Regions from separate parts of the Homo sapiens genome. Here region 1 is linked to region 2. The links are contacts of gene promoters, found by promoter capture Hi-C in human tissues and cell types (Jung and others, 2019). All regions are on one chromosome and are shown on one strand. Each heading gives the region's core, a stretch centred on a gene start or on the middle of the fragment in contact. The rest is flanking DNA. Distances are from core to core; before and after follow the strand shown.

Region 1 (6,577 bases), core at 3,575-6,074, 76 kb after region 2:
AATAATGTACTTTGTGATATTCCCCCGCCCTTGTGAATTACTTTGTACGATACACCCTCCCCACCCTTGAGAAGGTATTTTGTAATATCCTCCCCTGCCCTTAAGAAGGTACTTTGTAATATTCTCCCCTCCCTTGAGAATGTACTTTGTAAGATCCACCCCCTGCCCACAAAAAATTGCTCCTAACTCCACCACCTATCCCAAACCTACAAGAACTAACGATAATGCCACCACCCTTTGCTGACTCTCTTTTCAGACCCAGGCCGCCTGCACCCAGGTGATTAAAAAGCTTTATTGCTCACACAAAGCCTGTTTGGTGGTCTCTTCACATGGATGCGCGTGACACCGAGTAGCTGGGATTACAGATGTGTAACACCACACCTCGCTAATTTTTGTATCTGTAGTAGAAACGGGGTTTCACCATGTTGCCAGGTTGGTCTCGAACTCATGACCTCAGGTGATCCACCCGCCTCAGCCTCCCAAAGTGCTAGGATTACAGACGTGAGCCACCACGCCTGGACCGTTTTAATGTTAATGCTGGTCAGCTGTGCCTGAAGACACAGTCCGAAGGGAGGAGAGTATAATGAGGCCTGACTCCCCCTCCCATCATGGCCTGAACTCGTTTTTCAGATTTCTTTGGAATCCCCTTGGCTGAGAAGAGGGGTCCGTTCAACTGGTTGGAGGACTTAGAATTTTATTTTTGGTATACAAGACAAATGAGAACAGAGAGTCCAGAAAGAGATCCAGGTGTGTACAGGAACTTGCTCGTGGTGAGAAGGAACATTCCTCTTGCAGGTGGGAGGGGAAGATGACTATGTGTGACAAATGATGCTCGTGAGGGAAGAGAGAGACCCTCTCATATTGTTTTATATGGTTTTATACTCAGTACCCATTTTAAGAAAAAACAACAAGGAAGTAAAACCAAAGACAGGCAGCCCGGCGCCAGGCCCAAAACCAGACCTGGGCCTGCCTGGCCTAAAACCAGTAGTTAAAAATCAACTCATAACTTAGAAACTGATGTTATTCATAGATTCCAGACATTGTATAGAAGAACATCGTGAAACTCTCTGCCCTGTTCTCTTTCTCTCTGACCACCGGTGCATGCATCCCCTGTCACATACCGCCTGCTTGCTCAAATCAATCACGACCCTTTCATGTGAAATCTTTAGTGTTGTGAGCCCTTAAAAGGGACAGAAATTGTGCATTCAGGGAGCTCGGATTTTAAGGCAGTAGCTTGCAGATGCTCCCAGCTGAATAAAGCCCTTCCTTCTACAACTCGGTGTCTGAGAGGTTTTGTCTGTGGCTCATCCTGCTACATTTCTTGGTTCCCTGACCAGGAAACGAGGTAACTCACGGACGGCTGAGGCAGCCCCTCAGACGGCTTAGACCTGCCCTGTGGAGCATCCCTGTGGGGAACTCCGGCCAGCCTGAGTGATGCAATCCAAAGAGCGCTCCCGGGTAGGAAATTGACCCGGTGGAACGCCTCACCAGAGCAGCACGTAGCAGGCCCCCACGGAGGATTAACACAGTGGCTGAACACCAGGAAGGAACCGGTACTTGGAGTCCGGACATCTGAAACTTGGTAAGACTAGTCTTTGGAACTTGCCCCACTCCATCTGAGTGGAAGTGTGGCCTGATCACCCACGACGTGCCTGCATTGGTACTTTTGTTCTGGTTTTGACTTGACTTAGATTGTGTGATACTTTGGTTTTGGTTTTGACCTGGCTTGGATTTCTGGATACTCTGATTTTGGTTTGGTGTAAACTGCAAAAGTGTGTGTGTGCCCTTTTTACCTGTTTTTTGTTTTGTGGGGTGTGTGTGGTGTAAGCGTGGTGTTTTGTCTCAAAGAAGCATGGGCCAGGCACAAATAAGCCCACCCTACTAGGAACTATGTTAAAAAAAAAATTTCAAGGAAGAATTTAAGGGAGATTACAGTGCTACTGTGACACCAGGAAAACTTAGAACTTTGTGTGAAATAGACTGGCCAGCATTAGAGGTGGGTTGGCGATCAGAAGGAAGCCTGGACAGGTCCCTTGTTTCAAAGGTATGACACAAGGTAACCTGTAAGCCAAGGCACCCAGACCAGTTTCCATACATAGTTACAGCTGGTTTTAGACCCCCTTCCCCTCCACAGTAGTTAAAATAACAGCAGCATAAGCAGCTGGCAGAGGCAAGTAAAGACCAGCAGAGAGAAAAAAAGGCCATCTATACCAATTCTAAGTTAATTTAGACTAAACAAGGTCTTATTAATAGCAAAGGATGATTGAAATCCCAAACTTACAAGGTTTTCAACAAAACTGAAGTTTGCTAAAAGTTAACAGTGTAACATGTATTATGGTAACTTCTAATCTTGTGGCCTTAGACAGTCTAGTCCAAAGACATAAAGAAAGTTTGCTTTAAAAAAAGGAATGGTTATCTTCAAAAAAAGGGTGAGGCAGAATTTATGTAAAGAGTGTTATATGGTAAATTCTTGTCCTGAAATAAATTAAGTGGTTGTTTAAAGAAAAAAAAAATGTTTGTAACAAGTCAAAAAGTTGAAACATGTTAAAGAATTGCTGGTGAAAGTCATGAAAGAAAAAATGTTATAAAAAATTTATGCAAAAAATGTTGTATAATTTAAAAGTAATAAGGCCTCCTGAAGACTATTAAAAAAAACAGTTTATGTGCAAGGTGTATGAGAAAAGTAAAATATACTTTTGGTAAAAAGATTATAAAGGGGCATAAAAATGTGGATTTTTATCTACATTAAAAGATTAAAAAAATTAATGTTTTAAAAGTTTAAGCAAGTTTTAAAACGTTAATTATAAAGAAAATTCTGTGTGTAAACATATTAGCTAAAGTTAAAAAGGTATCATCCAGTTTTTCGGTGAACTGGACATTAAAGTAAAAATGCAACAGGTTTTTCTTTAAGCATCAACCTGCTCTTTTACAAAAATTATAAAAGGTTAAAAAGAGTCTATAAAATCTTACCTTATGGTCAAACATGAAAAATTGGATAAATATGTCTACAAGGTTTTATTAAAATTAAGTTTAATATTAATAACACACTAATATAAAGGTAAAATTTAGCTTCTCTGGTATAAAAATCATACAAGAAATATTATTAAATATAAAATGGTGTTGAGTTTTCTTTGGTCTAAAAACTAGTAAAAATTGGTGCTAAAGGAAACATTCATTTTACTAGAGGATCATAAAAGTTAGACTTAAAACAAACTTTGGCAATTAAGACAGCACACCAAGATGCAAATGCCTGGTTGAAATGGATCAAATATTCCATCTGCACTTTAAACAAATGCAATTGTTATGCTTGTGCACATGGCAGGCCAGAGGCCCTGATTGTCCCCCTTCCACTAAGGTGGTCCTCCAGTCGACCAGGCGTGGGCTGCATGGTAGCTCTTTTCCAGAATTCTACAGCCTGGAGTAATAAGTCATGCCAAGCTCTCTCTGCTATATCCCGAAGTCCCTGTGGGTCAGCCCCCGAGGGCCATCCAGCTTCCGTCTCCCAACACTAAGTTCACTTCGTGTCTCTCATGGCAGGGAGGAGACTTAGCATTCCGTGGAGACCTGAAGGGATGCAGCAAGCTTAAGAATTTTCAAGAGCTTATCAATCAGTCAGCCCTTGTTCATCCCCGAGCGGATGCGTGGTGGTATTGTGGTGGACCTTTACTGGGCACTCTGCTGAATAACTAGAGTGGCACTTGTGCTTTAGTCCATTTGGCTATCCCTTTCACCCTGGCATTTCATCAACCAGAGGAAGAAAAAAAATAATAAGACATCGTAAAACGAGAGAAGCCCCTTATAGGTCTTTCAACTCTCACATCTATTTAGATGCAATCGAAGCCCCGCAAGGAATACCAGATCAATTTAAAGCTTAAAATCAAATAGTTAAAAGATTTAAGTCAGTATTTTGGTAAATGACAGTCAATAAAAATGTAAATTAGATAAACTACATCTATTACACCCAACAGCAAGAGCTTTTCATGAGTTAAAAAAAAAAAAAAATTCATGTCGGCCCCAGCCCTGAGGCTACCTGACTTGACAAAACTCTTTACACTCTATGTGTCAGAAAGAGAAAAAATGGCAGTTGGAGTTTTAACCCAGACTGTAGGGTCCTGGCCAAGGGCAGTGGTCTATCTCTCAAAACAACTAGATGGGGTTTCCAAAGGCTGCCCCCACGTCCAAAGGCCCTGGTAGCAACGGCCCTGTTAGCACAAGAAGCAGATAAGCTAACTCTTAAGCAAAACCTAAAGTATGCCCAGGCTGTGGTGACTTTAATAAATACCAAAGGACATCATTAGCTAACGAATGCTAGACTAACTAGATACCAAAGCTTGCTCTGTGAAGATCCCCGCATAACCATTGAAGTTTGCAACACCCTAACCCCGCCACCTTACTCCTGGTATCAGAGAGCCCAGTTAAACATAACTGTGTAGAAGTATTGGATTCAGTTTATTCTAGTAGGCCCAACCACCAAGACCACCCTTAAACATCAGTAGACTGGGAGCTGTACGTGGATGGGAGCAGCTTCGCCAACCCCTGCAAAGTGACTCTGAAGAAGACGACAAGCCCTGCTCCAGTCACACCCAGAAGCTGACTGGTCCACGCACGGCCGAAGCATGAGGAAACTCATCACAGGACTCATTTTCCTTAAAATTTAGACTTGTACAGTAAGGACTTCAACTGACCTTTCTCAGACTGAGAACTGTTTCCAGTATATATATCAAGTCACTGAGGTAAGACAAAAGATTGCCACAGTCCTATTATTTTATGATTATTATAAGTGTACCAGGACTCTAAAAGAAACTTGTTTGTATAATGCTATTCTATCCAAGGTATGTAGCCCAGGAAATAACCAACCTGATGTGTGTTATGACCCATTTTAAGCCTCCCATGATCACAGTTTTTAAAATAAAATTAAGGACTGGTCCTTTTCTAGGTGACACAAGTAAGGTAACAGCTAGAACAGAAGAAAGAGGGGTCCCAAAAATGTAACCTTAAAATTTGATGCTTGTGCCACTATTGATAGTAAGCAGCATAGAATAGGATGCGGTTCTCTAAATTGGAAAAAAAAGTTACACAGTAAAAAAAAATAAGTATATCTGTCAAGAATCATATTTATGTGAGATGTGTCAGTACTGGTCTTGTGTCATTTGGGCTACTTGAAAAGAAGATAAAAAAGATCCTGTTTAGCTCCAAAAAGGAAAAGTCAGCCCCTCCTGCACGAGTGGGAGCTGCAACCTTTTAGAATTGATAATCACAAACCCCTCAGACCCAAAGTGGAATTAAAAAAAAAACATGCAACATTAGGCATTGATGGAAAAGGACTAGATCCTAGTGTAAGCATCCTAATAAAAAGAGAGGTTCAAAAACGCTCTCCAGAAACAGTATTTCAGACTTTCTATGATGAACTAAATGTGCCAGTACTTGAGATTCCAGGAAAAACTAAAAATTTATTTTTGCAATTAGCCAAACATGTAGCCCAGTCTCTACAAGTCACCTCATGTTATATTTGTGTTGGAACCGTAACAGGAGATCAATGGCCATGGGAAGTCCGACACTTAGTTCCTACAGACCCAGTTCCTGATGAATTCTTAGCCCCAAAGAACCACCCTGACAATTTTTGGGTTCTAAAAGTCTCAATTATTGGACAGTATTGCATAGCTAGAGAAGGAAAAGGATTCACTCATCCTGTAGGGCGGCTTAGTTGTCTTGGGCAAAAGCTGTAAAATGGTACCACAAAAACAGTTACATGGTGGAGTTCCAATTACACAGAAAGAAATCCATTCAGTAAATTTCCAAAGTTGCAGACTGTTTGGGCCCACCCAGAATTCCACTGGGACTGGACGGCCCCCGCCAGGTTATACTGGATATGTGGACACAGAGCTTATGCTAAGCTGCCTGATCAGTGGACAGGTAGCTGTGTAATTGGCACCATTAAGTCATCTTTCTTCTTACTGCCCATAAAAACAGGTAAACTTCTGGGCTTCCCAGTCTATGCTTCCCGCGAAAAACGAAGCATAGCCATAGGTGATTGGAAAGATGATAAATGGCCCCCTGAAAAAATCATATAATACTATGGACCAGCCACTTTGGCACAAGATGGCTCATGGGGATATTGAACCCCCATCTACATGCTCAACCGAATCACACAGTTACAAGCTGTTTTAGAAATTATTACTAATAAAACCGGTCAAGACTTGACTGTTCTTGCCTGGCAAGAGACTCTGATGAGAAATGCTATCTATCAAAATAGACTAGCTCTTGAGTACTTGCTAGCAGCTGAAGAAGGTGTTTGTGAAAAATTTAACCTTACTAATTGTTGTCTACACATAGATGATCACAGGCAAGTAGTTGAGGATATAGTTAAAGATATAACAAAACTGGCACATGCCCCCATGCAAGTGTGGCATGGACTCAATCTGGGAGCCATGTTTGGAAATTGGTTCCCAGCAATAGAAGAATTTAAAACTCTTATAATAAGAGTAATAATAGTAATAGGAACCTGCTTACTGCTCCCTTGTCTGATACCTGTATTTCTCCAAATGATAAAAAACTTCGTCACTACCTTAGTTCACCA
Region 2 (5,693 bases), core at 2,791-5,290:
GGGCAGGCGAGTCGCTTGAACCTGGGAGGTGGAGGTTGCAGTGAGCTGAGATCGTGCCATTGCACTCCAGCCTAGGCAACAGGGCCAGACTCCGTTTCAAAAAAAAAGTGTAAAATGTAATGGTTGGAAGCATGGGCTTGGAAATCAGAGACATTTGAGTTTGAATCCAGTCTCCATGATGATCAGTTGTTTTAGACAAGTTATATAACCTCTCTAAGCCTCAGTTCCTTAATCTATAAAATGGGAATAATCATCCCCATGATTACTGAATCAAGAATCAATATAATGTTATGTAAAGCACTTAGCATATGAAGCATGACTCTCTAATAGGAAAAATAAAAATAAAGCACTTAGCATAGTGTTTTGTACATAAAGAGCACTCAACATATGGTAGCTTTTTGAAAAAAAATCACTGCTGATGTTACTGTTGATGTTGTTTTTGTTTTTATGCTTAAAGTCACCAGCAGACTAGAGGTATGGGCTTTCACGAATCATGGCCAGTCACATAGTCACCAATATTTCATAATCATTCTTTCTTGAATCAAATTATTGCCACTGCTAACTAGAAATACCAAATTGAAAGCACTATTGTTTAATTATATGTATGGGAATGTCTTAAACATTTTTGGCCAGACAAACCATTCTAAACAAAAGTCGTACAGAAGGTTAAATTGCCCCTTTCAGTTATAATACATGCACTTCCTTTTCCTATCTAGACCTCAATAATCAACTGATGCCTGGCTCTTGTGGCCCAGGGTCTGTAGCCACATAGATAATCTTTTGGTATCATTCATCTCATTTAGCCCATAAGCTTCAAATTATGGTAAAGGAAAGGTCCCAGATTTAGAGTTCTCCCTGGAATTCTGAGTTTTTTCTCCACAGAAACCCCTCAGAGTCTTTTATTTTATCTAAAAAAATTTTTTGGCCAGGCACAGTGGCTCACGCCTGTAATCCCAGCACTTTGGGAGGCCGAAGCGGGTGGATCACGAGGTCAGGAGTTCGAGACCAGCCTGGTCAAGATGGTGAAACCCTGTCTCTACTAAAAATACAAAAATTAGCCGGCTCTGTCACTCAGGCTGGAGTGCAGTTGTGCAATCTCAGCTCACCGCAACCTCCGCCTCCCGGGTTCAAGCGATTCTCCTGCCTCAGCCTCCTGAGTAGCTGGGACTACAGGCGCGGGCCACCACATCCGGCTAATTTTTGTATTTTTCAGTAGAGACGGGGTTTCACCATGTTGGCCAGGATGGTCTCGATCTGTTGACCTCATGATCCGCCCACCTCGGCCTCCCAAAGTGCTGGGATTACAGGCATGAGCCACCACACCCGGCCTAGACATTGTTTTAAATGCATTACATGGATTAACTCATGGAACCAGCTTTATAGTATCCTGTGATGTTGGAAACCCAGACCCAGGGAGGTAAAGGTAATGTGCCCATGGTCATTCAGCTGGTAAATGGCAGAGCCGGATCCAAATCCAGGCAGACTGTTTCCATGCTCTTAACACTATGTTGATTCTTATTAAATATCCCTATGAAATATGTCTCATATTTACCCCCTTTCTTTCATCTCCACTGATGCTACATGAAACTTCCAGGATGTGTTAGTTGCATTATTACAATAACTTCTGAGTTTGTTACTTTGCTTCCAATCTCTCACTGGTCATCTCTGAGTGTCACTGTCAGATTAATTTTCATAAAATACTGCTTGTAGTGTGTCATTCCCCTGGCCAAGAAACTACATTTTATTTATTTATTTATTTATTTATTTATTTATTTATTTATTTATTTATGTTTTGAGACAGGGTCTCTGTTAACCAGGCTCAAGCAGTTCTCTTGCCTTAACCTCCCGAGTGCTGGCACCACAGGCACTTGTCACCACACTCAGCTAATTATAAAGGCCATAAGAGTAACAATCATGGCTTTTCAAGCCTGACAGAACCTAGCATCATGCTGTACTCACATTGTTTAAGAAATAAACATATGGATACACAGATTGATGTGAGTGGTATTTGGGAAGATTTGCTCCAATCTTGGCACTATATTTTATTTATTTATTTATTTATCTAGTGAACCAGAAATAAAATTATAAGCCCCCCAATCAAATGAATGGCCTCCTCTTCTGGGCCAAGGGCATTCCTAAATTAACCTGAAAAACTATTTGAGGCCATGATGAGAAGTGGGAGTCAGACATGCCTCATTATTTTCTCCTGCTTTTGGAATTCAGGACCAGCATTTAACATTAAAGCAGAGATCTTAAGGTTGACACAGCAGACTCTTTGTAGCAATGATACCAACATTGACAGATAGCAGGCCCCATCTGTCATGATAGCAGGCAAAGGTGTCTTTTATGGTGAAAATCTACATTCTGTAGAAAATCCCCTTCCCTTTCCAGGTCTTTTTCCTGATCCAGGGGAGAACTAACTAAGAGTCTGATACCTTTCTAAATCTGATAATAAACACTGGCCAGCCTTGGTGGCTCACACGTGTAATCCTAGCACTTTGGGAGGCAGAGATGGGAGGATCACTTGAGCCCAGGAGTTCAATACCAGCCTGGGCAACATGACAAAACACCATCTCTACAAAAAATACAAAAATAAGCCAGGCATAGTGGAATGAACCAGTAGTCTCAGCTACTTAGGAGGCTGAGGTGGGAGGATAACTTGAGCCTGGGAGGTCAAGGCTGCAGTAAGCCGTGATCCAGCTACTGCACTCCAGACTGGGTGACAGAGGGAGACCCTGTCTCAAAACAAAAAAAAAAATAAAGAAACATTTACAATCTATGCTCTCTGGAGCCTGCTACCTGTAGCCTTCTCTGCATAATAAAAACCTTGATTTCCACAATTCCTTGTGTGTGTGTGTGTGTGTGTGTGTGTGTGTGTGTGCGTGCATATCTTAGTAACAATTCCTTAACTTAACCCAGACATTCCCTTCTGTGGGTTCCAGGTCTTTAAACTCTTTCAACCAATTGTCAATCAGGACATCTTTGAATCCACCTACATCCTGGAACTTGCCACCCCCACCCCCACTTTCGGGACCAAGCCAATGTATATTTTACATGTATTGATTGATGTCTTACGTCTCCCTAAAATGTATAAAATCAAGTGGTGTCCCGACTATTTTGGACACACATTCTTAGGACCTTCTAAGGCTGTGTCACGGGCATGTCCTTAACATTGGCAAAATAAACTCCTAAATTGATTGAGACCTGTCTCAGATACTTTTTGGTTTGCAATTTATTTATTTGAGACAGGGTCTTGCTAGGTCGCCCAGGCTGGGGTACAGTGGCAGAATCATGGCTTATTGCAGCCTCAACCTCCTGGGCTCAAGGGATCCTCCCACCTCAGCCTCCTGAGTAGCTGTGACTACAGGCACCCACCACTAGGCTGGGTAATTTTTTTCTTCTGTAGATACGGAGTCTCCCTGCGTTGCCCAGGCTGATCTAGAACTCTTGGGCTCAAGCCTCCCGCACTCCTGAGCTCAAGCCGCGGCCTCCCGAAGTGCTGGGATTACAGATGTGAGCCACTGCGCCTGGCCAGGTACTATATTTTAAACAAAAAGGATCTAGATAATGACAAGGACAGCACAAATTCCTATAATGAATGCAAAAGTGTCTTGATATCACAATGTCTAGCACAGAGTTATTGGAGGCTATCCTGCCTAGCGCGTTACAATTTACAAAGCTGCCTCTCTGAAGCTGGATTTAGGATCTGCCTTAAACTCCGCGGCGGGGCCCTTGACAGCAGTGGGGACTGGAGCAAGATCAGAGCCGCTCGCGTTGATGGTCACTGTTGCTTCGGGCGCAGGTTTGGTTTTCTTTGGGGTTGCCATTTCAACTAGACGGCCTCTGGGTAGGCCAGATCTGGATCCTCTGTCTTTATCTGCGTTGCAGAGGTGGGACCACCCCTCTTTCACATAGTCAGCCCGGGTTCGCAAACACTCGGCCCCGCACAAAGATGGCGTGGAGCCGGGCTGGGCCAATGCGGAGTGGCGTTGCTCCCGGTTGCCTAGGTAACAGCCAATGGGCAGCGGGAATTGTACCCAGTGCGGTCGCCCAGGATGGCGGCGTCAAGTGGGGCAATCGCTGGTGGAGGTGGCGGAGAGCAAGGTGGCAGCCGGGAGCCCATCAGAGGAAAAGTCCGAGGCGCTGGAACCCTGCGTCCAGGCGTGACGGTCATCCCGAAAGGCCGGCCCCAGGTTGGCTGGAGGCGCAGGAGGGAGGGGGCCGGGAAAGAGTGTGATCGGTCAGGTGGGCACTGAGGAACGGAGCACGAGATGACCCGGCTCGGGGGCGCGGCTCCACCTCGGATACGCTGACCTGAGGGCGGTTGCCTGTGGGGGACCCAAACCTGAACCCTTTAGTCTCCACCGCGGGGGTCGAGGCCCGGGAGAGCTGACTGGACTGGGGTTAGCGAGCAGAGGGTGGAGGGTTGCATCAGGGGAATTGGCAGACCTGTGTGAGCGTTAGACCCTGCCGGGCGGGAGAGCGGGCCCGGATAGCAGGAAGGAACGCGCCTGGAAGGTGAAAATGGGGTGCGAGAAGGTGTTGCCTTGTTGTGGTCTAGGGCTTTGTTTTCCCTGAGCCCGCCTTTATCTCACTGGTGGAGAGAACTCCCACATATGGAAGCCTGGGGAATGGGATGCTTCATTTAGTTGATGGGTGGTATCCCTGCATTCTAGCATCTCTGAACTGCTTAGGTACCAGCAGGAATAACTGCTATATCGGAGTCCAGCCCTGGCATTCCCTTTCCCGTGAAATAGGATAGTATTCTGGCAGTATTACTCCCTAGTCCCAATCACCCCCAGGTCATCATCGCCTTTAAATAAAAAAAAAAAAAAATCTTTTTGGCGCCAGTATTTTCTTCCCACTTTCTTCAATCTAACCATCCCACAGTCTTCCCTAAACGAACCCTTCATATAGCAACGATACATTTCTTTACTTTTCACATGAGGAAAGAGGAGGTTAGACTTATAATGAAAAACAGTTATTTCGAGCTCCTTTTAAAACACTTAAAAAAAAATATTTAGGCCGGGCGCGGTGGCTCACGCCTGTAATCCCAACACTTTGGGAGGCCGAGGCGGGTGGATCACGAAGTCAGGAGTTCAAAACTAGCTTGGCCAAGATGGTGAAACCTCGTCTCTACTAAAAATACAAAAATTAGCCAAGCATGGTGGCACGTGCCTGTAATCCCAACTACCCAGGAGGCTGAGGCAGGAGAATTGCTTGAACCTGGGAGGCGGCGGTTGCAGTGAGCCAAGATCCTGCCACTGCACTCCAGCATGGGGGACAGAGCAAGACTCCGTCTCAAAAAAAAAAAAAAAAAAAAAAAAGGGGAGTATTATTTGACTTTTTGTTCTAGGTTCCTAACAAGGCTAATCTTTGTTCATCAAAGCCTTCATTTTCTTCTCTTTAGGATTCTAAAAGCTTATGAACTGCTTTCTTTATTACTGAAATAATTTGACAAGACTATTGTACCCTGGGAAGGGTGGTTCTGGGGGGACATGTGGGTAGTTAGGGTGGCTGCCTCCACCCAGTATTCTCTAACTGGATCTCCCCCACCGCCCCAACCTTTTGTTTTGTTTTGCTTTTCTTTTCTTTTTTTTGAGACAAGGTCTGGCTCTGTTGCCCAGGCTGGAGTACAGGTGTGGTGCAGTCACTGCTCACCCCGGCAGCCTCAAATTGTGGGCTCAAGCAAT

Evidence for each region. Contacts are between HindIII fragments. The study calls those that stand out against the background at their distance.
Region 1: a contact is called between a fragment that was not itself captured here and the fragment with the promoter of MORN4 in region 2, in 3 of the 25 tissues and cell types used here (aorta, dorsolateral prefrontal cortex and hippocampus).

The regions. Positions count from the first base shown.
Region 1 is chr10:97,556,066-97,562,642 of GRCh38, reverse strand. The region is part of intron 1 of UBTD1 (ubiquitin domain containing 1); the gene reads right to left. It overlaps LOC124902488 (a long non-coding RNA gene), which reads left to right and starts at 1,315. Exons shown (of 3, transcript XR_007062259.1): 1 at 1,315-1,582. The HindIII fragment of the contact is 5,776 bases long and covers 1,937-6,577 here.
Region 2 is chr10:97,631,847-97,637,539 of GRCh38, reverse strand. MORN4 (MORN repeat containing 4) reads left to right here and starts at 4,040. Exons shown (of 5, transcript NM_178832.4): 1 at 4,040-4,193. RefSeq lists an enhancer at 3,687-3,776. The HindIII fragment of the contact is 11,879 bases long and covers 1-5,693 here.